Regions from separate parts of the Homo sapiens genome. Here region 1 is linked to region 2. Evidence: promoter capture Hi-C in human tissues and cell types (Jung and others, 2019). All regions are on one chromosome and are shown on one strand. Each heading gives the region's core, a stretch centred on a gene start or on the middle of the fragment in contact. The rest is flanking DNA. Distances are from core to core; before and after follow the strand shown. Region 1 holds the start of SCNN1A (sodium channel epithelial 1 subunit alpha). Region 2 holds the start of COPS7A (COP9 signalosome subunit 7A).

Region 1 (5,742 bases), core at 3,086-5,585, 350 kb after region 2:
CAGTGGCACGATCTTGGCTCACTCCAAGCTCCACCTCCCCGGTTTTATGCCATTCTCCTGCCTCAGCCTCCCGAGTAGCTGGGACTACAGGCGTGCACCACTTATGCCCAGCTAATTTTTTTTGTAATTTTAGTAGAGACGGGGTTTCACCATGTTAGCCAGGATGGCCTCGATCCCCTGACCTCATGATCCACCCGCCTCGGCCTCCCAAAGTGCTGGGATTACAGGCGTGAGCCACCATGCCCGGCCAACTTCTAGTAGTGAACTTCTAAGTAAACTGCCAGGGGACTAGATGAAGAGTGGCATTTTTCTGGTCCATCATTTTAAATGAAAGAGAAATCTGTACCACATAAGGGCAGCTGAAAGGACTGTTGTCTTCCACAGTGGGCAGCCCCCAGTGTGAAGTGGCTAATTAGCTCCAAGTAGTAAGAATAAAGAGTTGCATTTAACTAAGTAACTGATTCTTATCCTGGAAAGGATAGAAGTGAACAGGGAAAAGTGAAGAAAATTTAGATAAATTAATAGACCACAAATAAATGGGTTGTCAGAGGAAGTTAGGATGTTTGAAGTTTTGCAGATGCTTTTTCGTAGCATATCCCGCTCTGTCAAAGATAAACTAGGAAAGACGCCAGTTCTGCTGTCTTCTGCAGACTGGGTCAGCAAACAGTGACCGCTAGACACTGAGGTCACCAAGATGAATACGCCTGGTCTCTGTCCTTGTGTTGCGGGAAGTCAGGGACCCCAAACGGATGTATACGTACAAACACACATACATCAGGATAATAGTAAATAATAATAATAAATAATAGTAAACAGTGGTAAGTGCAGAGATAGGCTCTCCCTAGGAGGGTGGAGTGATTACTTCCGTCATCTCCTGTCCGCGGAGAACAAGAGGCAGGAAGACCCTTTGCACTCATAACCCTCATCCCATGGCAGCCCCTCTGGTTTCACTTCTCTCCCTGCAGCCGTGCATATTTTATGGCCACACCACAGGGTTAGAGGATAGCTGGTGTTGGGAGGGGAAGGCAGCCCTGGGTTGGCGGGAAGGGCTGGGGCTCTGGGGGAGTCTGGGGGTAGTCCTGGGAAGGCAGGGGGTCCTTCCAAGACAGAGTCTACAAAGCTCTTGACTTCTTATAGAACAAAACTGTACTTCTCTCAAAGTCAGAGAAGGAGAACTGGGCTTGGAAAGGAGTGGCCTGGTTTTCAGTCTGACCCCACCCCTAACTCCTGGGTGACTGTGGCCAAGTCACTTTGCTTCTGTGGGCCTCAGTCCCCTCATGCATGAAGCAGGGGGCTAGATGCAAGGTCAGCTGGAAAAAGTCTTTGTCCATCTGGGTTGCCTTACCCACCCCTTCTTGCCCTTTCATTTTCTCAGGTAAGATCACCGGGGCCCATAGAGGTCAAGTGCCTTTCTCAAAGTCACATAGTTTAAAAGCAAAAATAGGGGCTGAGTATGGTGGCTCACACTTGTAATCCCAGCACTTTGGGAGGCTGAGGCAGGAGGACTGCTTGAGCCTAGGAGTTGGAGGCTGCAGTGAGCCATGATCATGCTGCTGTACTCCAGCCTAGAGGATAGTGCATGATCCTGTCTCTAAGATAAATAAGAAAATAAAAGCAAAAATGGAAGTTGTAGAAACATACCTATAGCATGGTCTCTGTCATAAAAAAGAACTATATATTTTGTTTTTTAAAAATACATGTAAGTTTATAAAGGCACACAAAAAGATATAGACAGATATACAAATTATGGTGGCTCCCCTTTGGGGAGGGAAAGGAAGGGGACTAAGGGAAGCTCTATATACTTCTGTATTGCTGAAAAATTGTACTGTGACAAAAACATATTTGTGTATTATTTGTACACTTTAAAAGATCATCTTTAAAATGGACTTCTGACCAAAGTCCAGGTCTCAGATTTCTATTTTCCTCACAACACCAAGCCTGTTCTAGCCCGCTCCAGGTCTAGAATGCTGCAGCACTAGGCTCGCATTGCCACTCCCATACCCGGCAGGACGTGGCAGGGTCACCACCCTTTGGCTCAGCCCAGACCAGGCATTGCAATTCTTCTCACAGAGCCCTTGATATGAAAACTATTTGCCATGCTGCCTTAAGCTAGTGGTTGGATTTCAGGCATGAGCTGGCAAATAGAAAAGGCAGGGAGGTGCTTTTCAGAACCTTTGAGATCAAACAGCCAGGGTGCTGAGCACCTTATTGCAGGGAGGACCATGCCCAATGTAAGGACCTGGCTCAAGGGAGACTGGAGTTTCTAGGGGTCTCTGGGATATGTGGGGCAGTGGGGACAGTGCAGAGACCTTTTCACAGAGCCAAGGAGATAACCCAGCACCCAGAGAGCAGACGAATCCACGGGCTCTGTGTGGGAGTGAGGGAGGCCTTCCCGGCTTTCACATCCAGGTGCACCTGAGCCCCGATCCCCCATGAGTCTGTCTCAGGAAGTAAATGGCAAAAGCGCTAAGTAGATAGCCCCAGAGGAGGAGGAGAATTCTGAATTCTGTTTATAGCTCTGCTCCTATTTTGTTTTCTAACCTCAGAAAACTGATTTATCCTTGGGAAGGGTCAGTTTCTTCATTAGGACAATGAAGAAAAATCCAGCTGTCCCTTCCAAGGGGAGGTATCATGAGCAGTATCAAGGTAAGCAAGGGAACCTGGTTTGGAATCCTGGTTGACACCGGCTTTCACTTTAAGAAGTCGCAAGAGACTGCCGCAAGAGAGGAAGCCACAGACCAGGTTGGACCCTGAGCCTGGAGTACTGCCTTTTCTCTTCTTTGCCTGCTAAACTCCTTGCTTGTCAAGATTCAGCAGAGATGACACCTTCTCTGGGAAGGCTTCCTGAGTCTCCTGCAGTGAGCCCCTAGGCTCCCCTAGCCCTTGGCTCTTATGTCTTATCTCTGAGAAATCTGAGATCTGCACTTTTGTTAGAAGTCCGTTTTAAAGACAATCTTTTAAAGTGTACAAATAGAAACCTTATCTTATTGTATTGCAGGCCTATCTCCTCCCCCGGTGTGTATCAATGCTCAGGCTGGGCCTTTGTCTGCTGGCTTGTGGAGGGAGGCAGGACAAGCCAGTGACCACATTCCTGCACTCTGGGCTGCCTCCTGTGGGGCCCGTGAGGAAGCGGCAGCCTTCCCTGCCGCGTGCAGGGCCTGGGTTGTGTGGGTGGCTCTCCCGAGTCTCCTCCAGCCCTTTTTGGGTCTGATTCTCTGACCCTCCTCTCTCTCCTTGCTCACCACTTGGCACTCCACTCCTTATCCTTTTGCTGCATTAAGTTTGGAAAGAGATTTTGGAGAAAATATAGCCCATCAACGAATTTCTCCTCCTCCCAGGGCCTGTCTAGGCGTGTGCCATGCCCACCCTCTTCCTTTCCAGCGCTGGCCACATCCTCCCTGCACCTTCAGTGCCTGCTTTCCCTGCCTCTTCCTGGGCTCCGGGTCTGTGTCCACAGTGTCCTGCGTGGCCCTCGCGCTGCCTCTGGTTGCCCACATTCCTGCAACTCTGTGACCACAGCAGGGGCGATTACACATTCCTGGCCTGGCAGCCAACAGTGTAAAAAAGAACAGAATGTCCTAGGGCCCCGCCTAGCCCCCAGCTTCACCTGGGCCCCTCCCGGGTCTGGACAAGGTTGGAGGGGGTGGCGAGGAATCAGCAGGAAAGAGGAGGGACCAGGAGGAGGCAGACGCATCCCACCTGAGTGCGCTGCTCCCACTTAGTGAGCGGGGAGGAGACCTGCAGAGACCTCTTCTCTCTTCTCTGCAGGGCCTGAGGGTGAGGCTGACCTGTGGGTGCCCTTGGAGGGCTGCCCACTTGCTGAGCCTCTAGCTCCTGGAAGCACACTTGGGACTCCCCCCTTGCTCTCCTTCCTGGAGACAGACTCCCTTTGGTGCTGGCTCCTTCTATTTGCCCCCACCACTGCCCCCCACCTGCCTCTACTCACTCAGTGCCCCTCCTCCATCCCTATCTCTCTGTCCTTCGCTGTCCCTCTCTATTGTCTCCCTCTTTCTGCCCTCCTGTCCTCCCGGTTCCCCACCCAGGCCCTCTCAGCCTGGCTGGCCCCTTCTCCTTGTGTTGCCCTCCTAGCTGTGGGCTCAGGATCCTTCTACTTGTTCAGATCTTTGCCCCTCACCTGCCATCCTGTCCCCCAGCCTCCTTGCCTGTCTGCGTCTAAAGCCCCTGCCCAGAGTCCGCCTTCTCAGGTCCAGTACTCCCAGTTCACCTGCCCTCGGGAGCCCTCCTTCCTTCGGAAAACTCCCGGCTCTGACTCCTCCTCAGCCCCTCCCCCCGCCCTGCTCACCTTTAATTGAGATGCTAATGAGATTCCTGTCGCTTCCATCCCTGGCCGGCCAGCGGGCGGGCTCCCCAGCCAGGCCGCTGCACCTGTCAGGTGAGGGGGAGGAGAGGTTTGGCTGCCAGATTCAACTGGAAAGGAACCAGTCCCAGTCCAGCCGCAACCTGGGAGTGGGAAGCTGGAGGCAGCCCAGACCTCCTGGAGCCCTGCAGTCCTGGGGCAGAGACAGAATCAGGACACAGCTCGAGGTCAGGGCCAGAGGCTGGAGCTGAGGGCCTAGAGTGAGAGGGGGCAAGGCAAGGGGGGGAGAGGAAGAGAGGCAGGATTAGAGAGAGGAGGCAGGCCAGAAAGAGGAGAGCAGGAGAGACCCAAAGAGAAACAGAAGGCAGATAGAGAGGGAGTGAGAGGCAGGAGCTGAGACACAGATCCTGGAGGAAGAAGACCAAAGGAAGGGGGCAGAGACAGAAAGGGAGGTGCTAGGACAAAACTCGAAAGGTGGCCCTATCAGGGAAGCAGAGGAGAGGCCGTTCTAGGGAAGCCCAGCTCCGGCACTTTTGGCCCCAACTCCCGCAGGTCTGCTGGCTCCAGGAAAGGTGGAGGAGGGAGGGAGGAGTGGGAGAATGTGGGCGCAGGGTGGGACATGGGCATGGCCAGGGGCAGCCTCACTCGGGTTCCAGGGGTGATGGGAGAGGGCACTCAGGGCCCAGAGCTCAGCCTTGACCCTGACCCTTGCTCTCCCCAATCCACTCCGGGGCTCATGAAGGGGAACAAGCTGGAGGAGCAGGACCCTAGACCTCTGCAGCCCATACCAGGTCTCATGGAGGGGAACAAGCTGGAGGAGCAGGACTCTAGCCCTCCACAGTCCACTCCAGGGCTCATGAAGGGGAACAAGCGTGAGGAGCAGGGGCTGGGCCCCGAACCTGCGGCGCCCCAGCAGCCCACGGCGGAGGAGGAGGCCCTGATCGAGTTCCACCGCTCCTACCGAGAGCTCTTCGAGTTCTTCTGCAACAACACCACCATCCACGGCGCCATCCGCCTGGTGTGCTCCCAGCACAACCGCATGAAGACGGCCTTCTGGGCAGTGCTGTGGCTCTGCACCTTTGGCATGATGTACTGGCAATTCGGCCTGCTTTTCGGAGAGTACTTCAGCTACCCCGTCAGCCTCAACATCAACCTCAACTCGGACAAGCTCGTCTTCCCCGCAGTGACCATCTGCACCCTCAATCCCTACAGGTCGGTTAGTCCCTCTGCCCCTTCCCTGGTGCCTGCGCCTGGAAGGGTGGTCCAGGGTGCTGAGGTGCTCACTGGGCAGGCAGAGCCTCAGACCTGAGGGTGGGAACTGACACCCCTGTCCCAGGTAGAGCTCACTGCTGGCAAAATGAGGAGCCTCCAGCTTACTGGACTGGCGTCCCTGCCCAGTGGAGCCATCCTAGCACCCCAGGCTC
Region 2 (6,202 bases), core at 2,032-4,531:
CTCCCTCTGTTACCCAGGCTGGAGTGCAGTGGCGCGATCTTGGCTCACTGCAACCTCCGCCTCCCAGGTTCAGGCAATTCTCCTGCCTCAGCCTCCCAAGCAGGTGGGATTACAGGCGTGCACCACCACACCAGGCTAATTTTTGTATTTTTAGTAGAAACAGGGTTTCGCCACATTGGCCAGGCTGGTCTCGAACTCCTGACCTCAGGTGATCCACCTGCCTTGGCCTCCCAAAGTGCTGGGATTATAGGCGTGAGCCACTGTGCTCAGCTTCATTCTGGCACTTAATCAATCAATCCTTGCAGAAGGTTGCTACCTAAGAATATCTTTCAACAAGATTATAGACCCAGTCTCAGGTATCCCACAGAGCTATGCAGTAATTGCCTCGCAAGAAATACTTGCTAAATAAATAAATAATTCAGATTTCTATCCATTCATCTTCTCTCTTCAACTGGAATGCAAGCTTCAGAAGGGTAAGCTCCATGCCTGGTGCTTTTCTTGTATTCCCAGACCATAAGAAGGGTAGTAAAGAGCCACTTAATAAGTGCTTCTTTTTCTTTTTCTTTGAGATGGTGTCTCACACTGTCACCCAGGCTGGAGTGCAGTGGCGCGACCTCGGCTCACTGCAACCTCCGCCTCCCTTTTTTTTTTTTTTAAATTATACTTTAAGTTCTGGGATACATGAGCTTTTGTTTGTTTTATTTATTTATTTATTTTTTTTTTTGAGACAGAGTCTCACTCTGTTGCCCAGGCTGGAATGCAGTGGTGCAATCTCGGCTCACTGCAACCTCCTGCCTCCCAGGTTCAAGTGATTCTCCTGCCTCAGCCTCCCGAGTAGCTGGGATTACAGGCGCCTGCCACCGCGCCCGGCTAATTTTTGTATTTTTAGCAGAGACGGGGTTTTGCCATCTTGGCCAGGCTGGTCTTGAACTCCTGACCTCATGATCCACCCACCTCGGCCTCCCAAAGTGCTGAGAACAGGCATGAGAGGCATGAGCCACCATGACTGGCCCTGTTTTTCGTTTTTGTCTTGTTTTTTGAGATGGAGTCTCGCTCTGTCGCCCAGACTGGAATGCAGTGGCTCGAACTCAACTCACTGCAACCTCAGCCTCACCCTTCCAAGCAGCTGGGACTACAGGCGCCCGCCACCACACCCGGCTAATTTTTTGTATTTTTAGTAGAGACGGGGTTTCACCATGTTAGCCAGGATGGTCTCCATCTCCTGACCTCATGATCCGCCCACCTCAGCCTCCCAAAGTGCTGGGATTACAGGCATGAGCCACCGTGCCCAGCCCTGTTTGTATTTTTAACAGAGACAGGATTCTGCCATATCGGTTTCACCTCCTGCCCTCAGGTGATCCACCTGCCTTGGCCTTCCAAAGTGCTGGGATTACAGGCATGAGCCACCGCACCCAGCCAAGTGCTTCTTTTTCATCACTTTGATTGATACTCTTTAGTTCCACTGCAGATGAAAGCAGGGAAAAGTCAGCCAGTTTTCTCCATATCACAGAGTGATCCAAAAGGTTAAACCACAGGCCCCAAATAACTTAGCTCAGTTTACCCACATACCACTGTCAGCATGTCAGGACTCAGGCTGCCTCCTCTGATTGTAAATTAACTCTGCCACTTTTGTGTGAACGGTTCTCTCTGCTGTGTTCCTAGCAGTTTGCCATGTGTCTCTGGGAAAAAGACACGTTCTCCCTTAGCTAACTTGAATAGATTAGCATATGCTGCACATAGGGAAGAAAAGGGCATGCTAATTTAACATGTTCACTCTCCACTTGTACCAGACTTCACACTTTCCCATAATCTCACTTTATTCCCACAACAGAGAGGGGCAGTATTGTCTCCATTTTTAAAAGAGAAAGTTGGCTAGGTGCGGTGGCTCAAGCCTGTAATCCCAGCACCTTGGGAGGTCAAGGCGGGCGGATCACGAGGTCAGGAGATCGAGATCATCCTGGCTAACACAGTGAAATCCCATCTCTACTAAAAATACAAAAAAGTTAGCCGGGCATGGTGGCGGGCGCCTGTAGTCCCAGCTACTGAGGAGGCTGAGGCAGGAGAATGGCGTGAACCCAGGAGGCAGAGCTTGCACTCAGCTGAGATCACGCCACTGCACTCCAGCCTGGGTGACAGAGCAAGACTCCGTCTCAAAAAAAAAAAAAAAAAGAGAAAGCTGAAGCCCTAAAACAAAAGTGACCTGATCAAGGTGACATGAGAATTAACAGCTACTACACTGGTGGAGACCGGCTGGAAATCAGGTTTCCTATTCTGAATAGGATGCTCTTTTGCTTAAAATGAAAAATAGTGGGCTTTACAGATCCCTTATCTCCAAAGGAGAGCTGGTTTGCTTGTTCACTGGTTACTTCTGCAAGTTGGCATTTAATTATCACTGTTTTCTTGTTCAACTGAATGGTTATTGGATCACAAAATGAGCCCTGCCCACCCATTCTCAAATTCAAACCTTTGCCCACGCTTCTCTGAGGGCTATTCAAGCCAGCAACCCACCTCTCTAACATTGGGCATGTCCAGCAGTTCTCCAAACACGTAGACACCAGGGGCCTCCAGCACCTGATGGATGAGTGTGGCCAGCGCTGCCCCCTTGGCCGACTTGGCTAGGAGCAGAAATTGCTCCTGGTTCTGCCCTGTCACCTTCACTTCCGCACTCATCACTGCACTGAGTGTGGGGGACTTGGGCTCAGGATGTCCAGAGCTGCAAGGAAAGAGGATGTGAAGCTAGAGGTCCCCGATGGCTGGTCGGATGGGAAGCACAAGGCTGAGGGACTGGATTGTAAAGGCACTAAGTCGGTTCTGCGGTGAGGAATCAGACATGGAGCGGTCTAAAATTCTGATCTAGGAATCCTAAAGTCAGCCACTTCGCAAGGCTGCCACACCCACCCCCTCCCCTGGGCCTAACCCCAAGCCCCATCACGTGCACCCCATTGAACCCCAAGACACAGGATGCAAAGGAGAAATGGGTGTCGCATGGTGTCCACCCTGACGACGCTCCCTCAGCTCTCCATTGCTGCCCCGCACGCGCCCACAACCACGTGACCTCACCCCCATTGAAGCTTACACGTGGCTCCGCCCCCTCCCTTAAAGACACCGCCCAGCGACCGTGGGCTCCCGCCGACTGCTTCGTCGTACCCTGGGTCAGGCTCTGCGGGCCGCTACCTGGAAGCTTCGACCTCCAGCGCACCGGGCGGGGCCGCCGCTCCGTCACCTCCGGCAGCTGTTCCAAGCCTTTCCTGCCACCTCCCTGAAGAGTCGCTCTGGCCACTAAACTCTATGGCGGGCTTCCGGCCGTACTTCCGCTCTAAGGACGCAAATTTCGGCAGGACATGCCCCACCCCCGCGTTCCGACCGCTGAAGCTCCAGTGAGGGACGCAGGCATTCTACTCTTCGATTGGTCGCTGGGGGAAGAATGACGGGCGCCTTTTTAAATGCTTTATTTCAATAAAACTTTATTAGTGGAAGAGCGCCAGCTATTAACTACAGACGTCTCTGGTGGGTCCCTGGTCCCGGCCCATTCTGTGTCTGTTCTAAGCCGCTGGAGAGCTGGAGATCAGGACTGCACTGGGTACCTGAGGCAAGAGAAAAGCTGTAACGGAAGGAGTGAAGAAGAGGGAAAAAAACGGGATGAGGAAACAAGGGGCAGAGAGGAAGCAAACAAAAATCAATAATAGAAGTTTAGCAGCAGAGATCACCTAGGTGGTTCAACCACTCACTTTTTTGAAGAGCAGGAGAAAAGAAGCGAGAAAAATAAAAGAGAGAATAAAGCTAACATGTATTGAGTGCTTACTATTGGTCAGACATCTTTTAAAATTTTATTCCGTTGAATCCTCACAAATATTCCCCTGTGACTTCAGGACACCCTCTACCATGATTACTACATATGTATTAATACTTGTAGAATGATGCTTTCAGTACATGGACTCTTAATTTCTTGGGGAGGAAAAAACCCTATGTGGTTCTCATTTTACAGAAAAGGAAATTGAGGCTCATAAAAATCCAAGGATTTATCTGGAGCTTTTCAAACTCAAAACCATCTTTCTACTTCAATATGATACTTTAATAAAAACAAAAACAACTAACATTTCTATAGTGTTTTATATTTCACAACAGGCTTGCAGAAGGTCAAGTGAGGGTAAAGTTAATGACATCTTGGCCTTTGTGTTAAGCCATGAGCATTACTTAATTCATCTGATACAACGATCTAGTAATTGTTATCTCCACTTTCCAGATGGAAAAACTGAACTCAGGAAAATTAAGAAACTTGTAAGTAATGGAAAGACAAGAAAGTGAAAAAGAGAAAGATAAAGAGAAATAGGACTCGTAGTCTGTTAGGGCTAAAGGAACTGCAGATGCAGTTTATGGTCCGCATATTTTGGTTTGTGATAGAAAATAAGCAGAAACACAGAAAGGAAAGAGAAAGGAGGAAGAGGAGAAGAAGAAATGAATGGAAAAGGTGAAACAAAAGTGAGTAGAAGGAATCAAAGGCATAATAAAATATTCAGAGTTTGAAGGAAGCAAGGAATTAATGAGTCCAAACATTATTATTATTATTTTGCATCCACCCCTCCCCGCCCCAAGCTTATCTTTTTTTTTTTTTTTTAATTTGAGACGGAGTCTCGCTCTGTCGCCCAGGCTGGAGTGCAGTGGCGCGATCTCGGCTCACTGCAAGCTTCGCCTCCCGGGTTCACGCCATTCTCTGGCCTCAGCCTCCCGAATAGCTGGGACTACAGGCGCCCGCCACTACGCCCGGCTAATTTTTGTATTTTTAGTAGAGACGGGGTTTCACCGTGTTAGCCAGGATGGTCTCGATCTCCTGACCTCGTGATCCGCCCGCCTCAGACTCCCAAAGTGCTGGGATTACAGGCGTAAACCACTGCGCCCGGCCAAGCTTATCATTTTTAGAGAGAAGGGAAAAACATGTAAGATGAAGGGATGAGAAAATAACCCGTATTTGTTCTATTTTGCGCCAAGTGCTTTATTTGTTCATTTTTTACTTTTTTTTTTTTTTTTTTTTTTTTTTTTTTAGAGGCATGGTTTCACTCTGTTGCCCAGGGTGGCGTGCAGTGATGCGATCACAGCTCACTGCAGCCTCGATTGTTCAAATTTTTATCTTATTTATTTTTTTTTGAGACAGTCTTGCTCTATGGCCCAGGCTGGAGTGCAGCGGCACAATCTCGGCTCATTGCAACCTCCACCTCCCAGGTTCAAGCGGTTCTCCTGCCTCAGCCTCCCAAGTAGCTGGGATTACAGGGACGCGCCACCATGCCCGGCTAATTTTTGTATTTTTAGTAGAGCTGTGGTTTCACCATGCTAGCCAGGATGGTCTCGATCTCCTGATCTCGTGATCCACCGGCCTCTGTCTCCCAAAGTGCTGGGATTACAGGCGCGAGCCGCCGCACCCGGCCGATTGTTCAAATTTTTATTCGATCTTTGCAACCCTATGAGGTGCATATTAGTGTCTCAATTCACCTGTGAGGACACTTAGGAATACAGAAGTTAAATAGTTTGTTGAAGGTTACCGGTCTGTGATGAAACTGAGATCTAAATGCAAGTTTGTCTGATTCCAACACTGTATTGAGAAAGATAAGCGAGCTGGGCGTGGTGGCTCAGGACTGTAATCCCAGCACTTTGGGAGGCTAAGGTAGGCGGATCGCTTGAGGCCAGGAGTTCGAGACCAGACTGGCCGACATGGTGAAACCTCATCTCTACTAAAAAAATAATAATTAGCAGAGCGTGGTGGCAGACCCCTGTAATCCGAGCTACTCAGGAGGCTAAGGCAGGAGAATTGCTTGAACCCTGAGGAAGGAGAAGGGGACAGAGGTTGCAGTGAGCCAAGATCCTGTCTCTGCACTTCCGCCTGGGCAACGGAGCAAGACTCCGTCTCAAAAAAAAAAAAAAAAAAAGAAAGAAAGAAAGAAATGAGCCAGACAGAGTGGCTCATGCTTGTAATCCCAGCACTTTGGGAGGTCAAGGCAGGTGGCTCACTTGAGGTCTTGAGATCAGGAGTTTGAGACCAGCCTGGCCAACATGATAAAATCTCATCTCTACCAAAAATACAAAAATTAGCCGGGTGTGGTGGCGCATGCCTGTAATCCCAGCTCCTCGGAAGGCTGAAACAGGAGTATCTCTTGAATCCAGGAGGCAGAGGTTGCAGTGAGCCAAGATTGTGCCATTGCACTCCAGCCTG

The links. Contacts are between HindIII fragments. The study calls those that stand out against the background at their distance.
Region 1: a contact is called between the fragment with the promoter of SCNN1A here and the fragment with the promoter of COPS7A in region 2, in 1 of the 25 tissues and cell types used here (hippocampus).

The regions. Positions count from the first base shown.
Region 1 is chr12:6,374,156-6,379,897 of GRCh38, reverse strand. SCNN1A (sodium channel epithelial 1 subunit alpha) reads left to right here and starts at 4,335. Exons shown (of 13, transcript NM_001038.6): 1 at 4,335-4,393; 2 at 5,061-5,530. The coding sequence starts at 5,115. It also overlaps a transcript of LTBR not described here. RefSeq lists enhancers at 2,903-3,507, 5,324-5,742. The HindIII fragment of the contact is 22,523 bases long and covers 1-5,742 here.
Region 2 is chr12:6,721,125-6,727,326 of GRCh38, reverse strand. It overlaps COPS7A (COP9 signalosome subunit 7A), which reads right to left and starts at 3,281. Exons shown (of 8, transcript NM_001164094.2): 1 at 3,148-3,281; 2 at 2,509-2,713. The coding sequence starts at 2,670. RefSeq lists enhancers at 2,627-2,846, 2,977-3,116, 3,147-3,356. The HindIII fragment of the contact is 8,117 bases long and covers 1,768-6,202 here.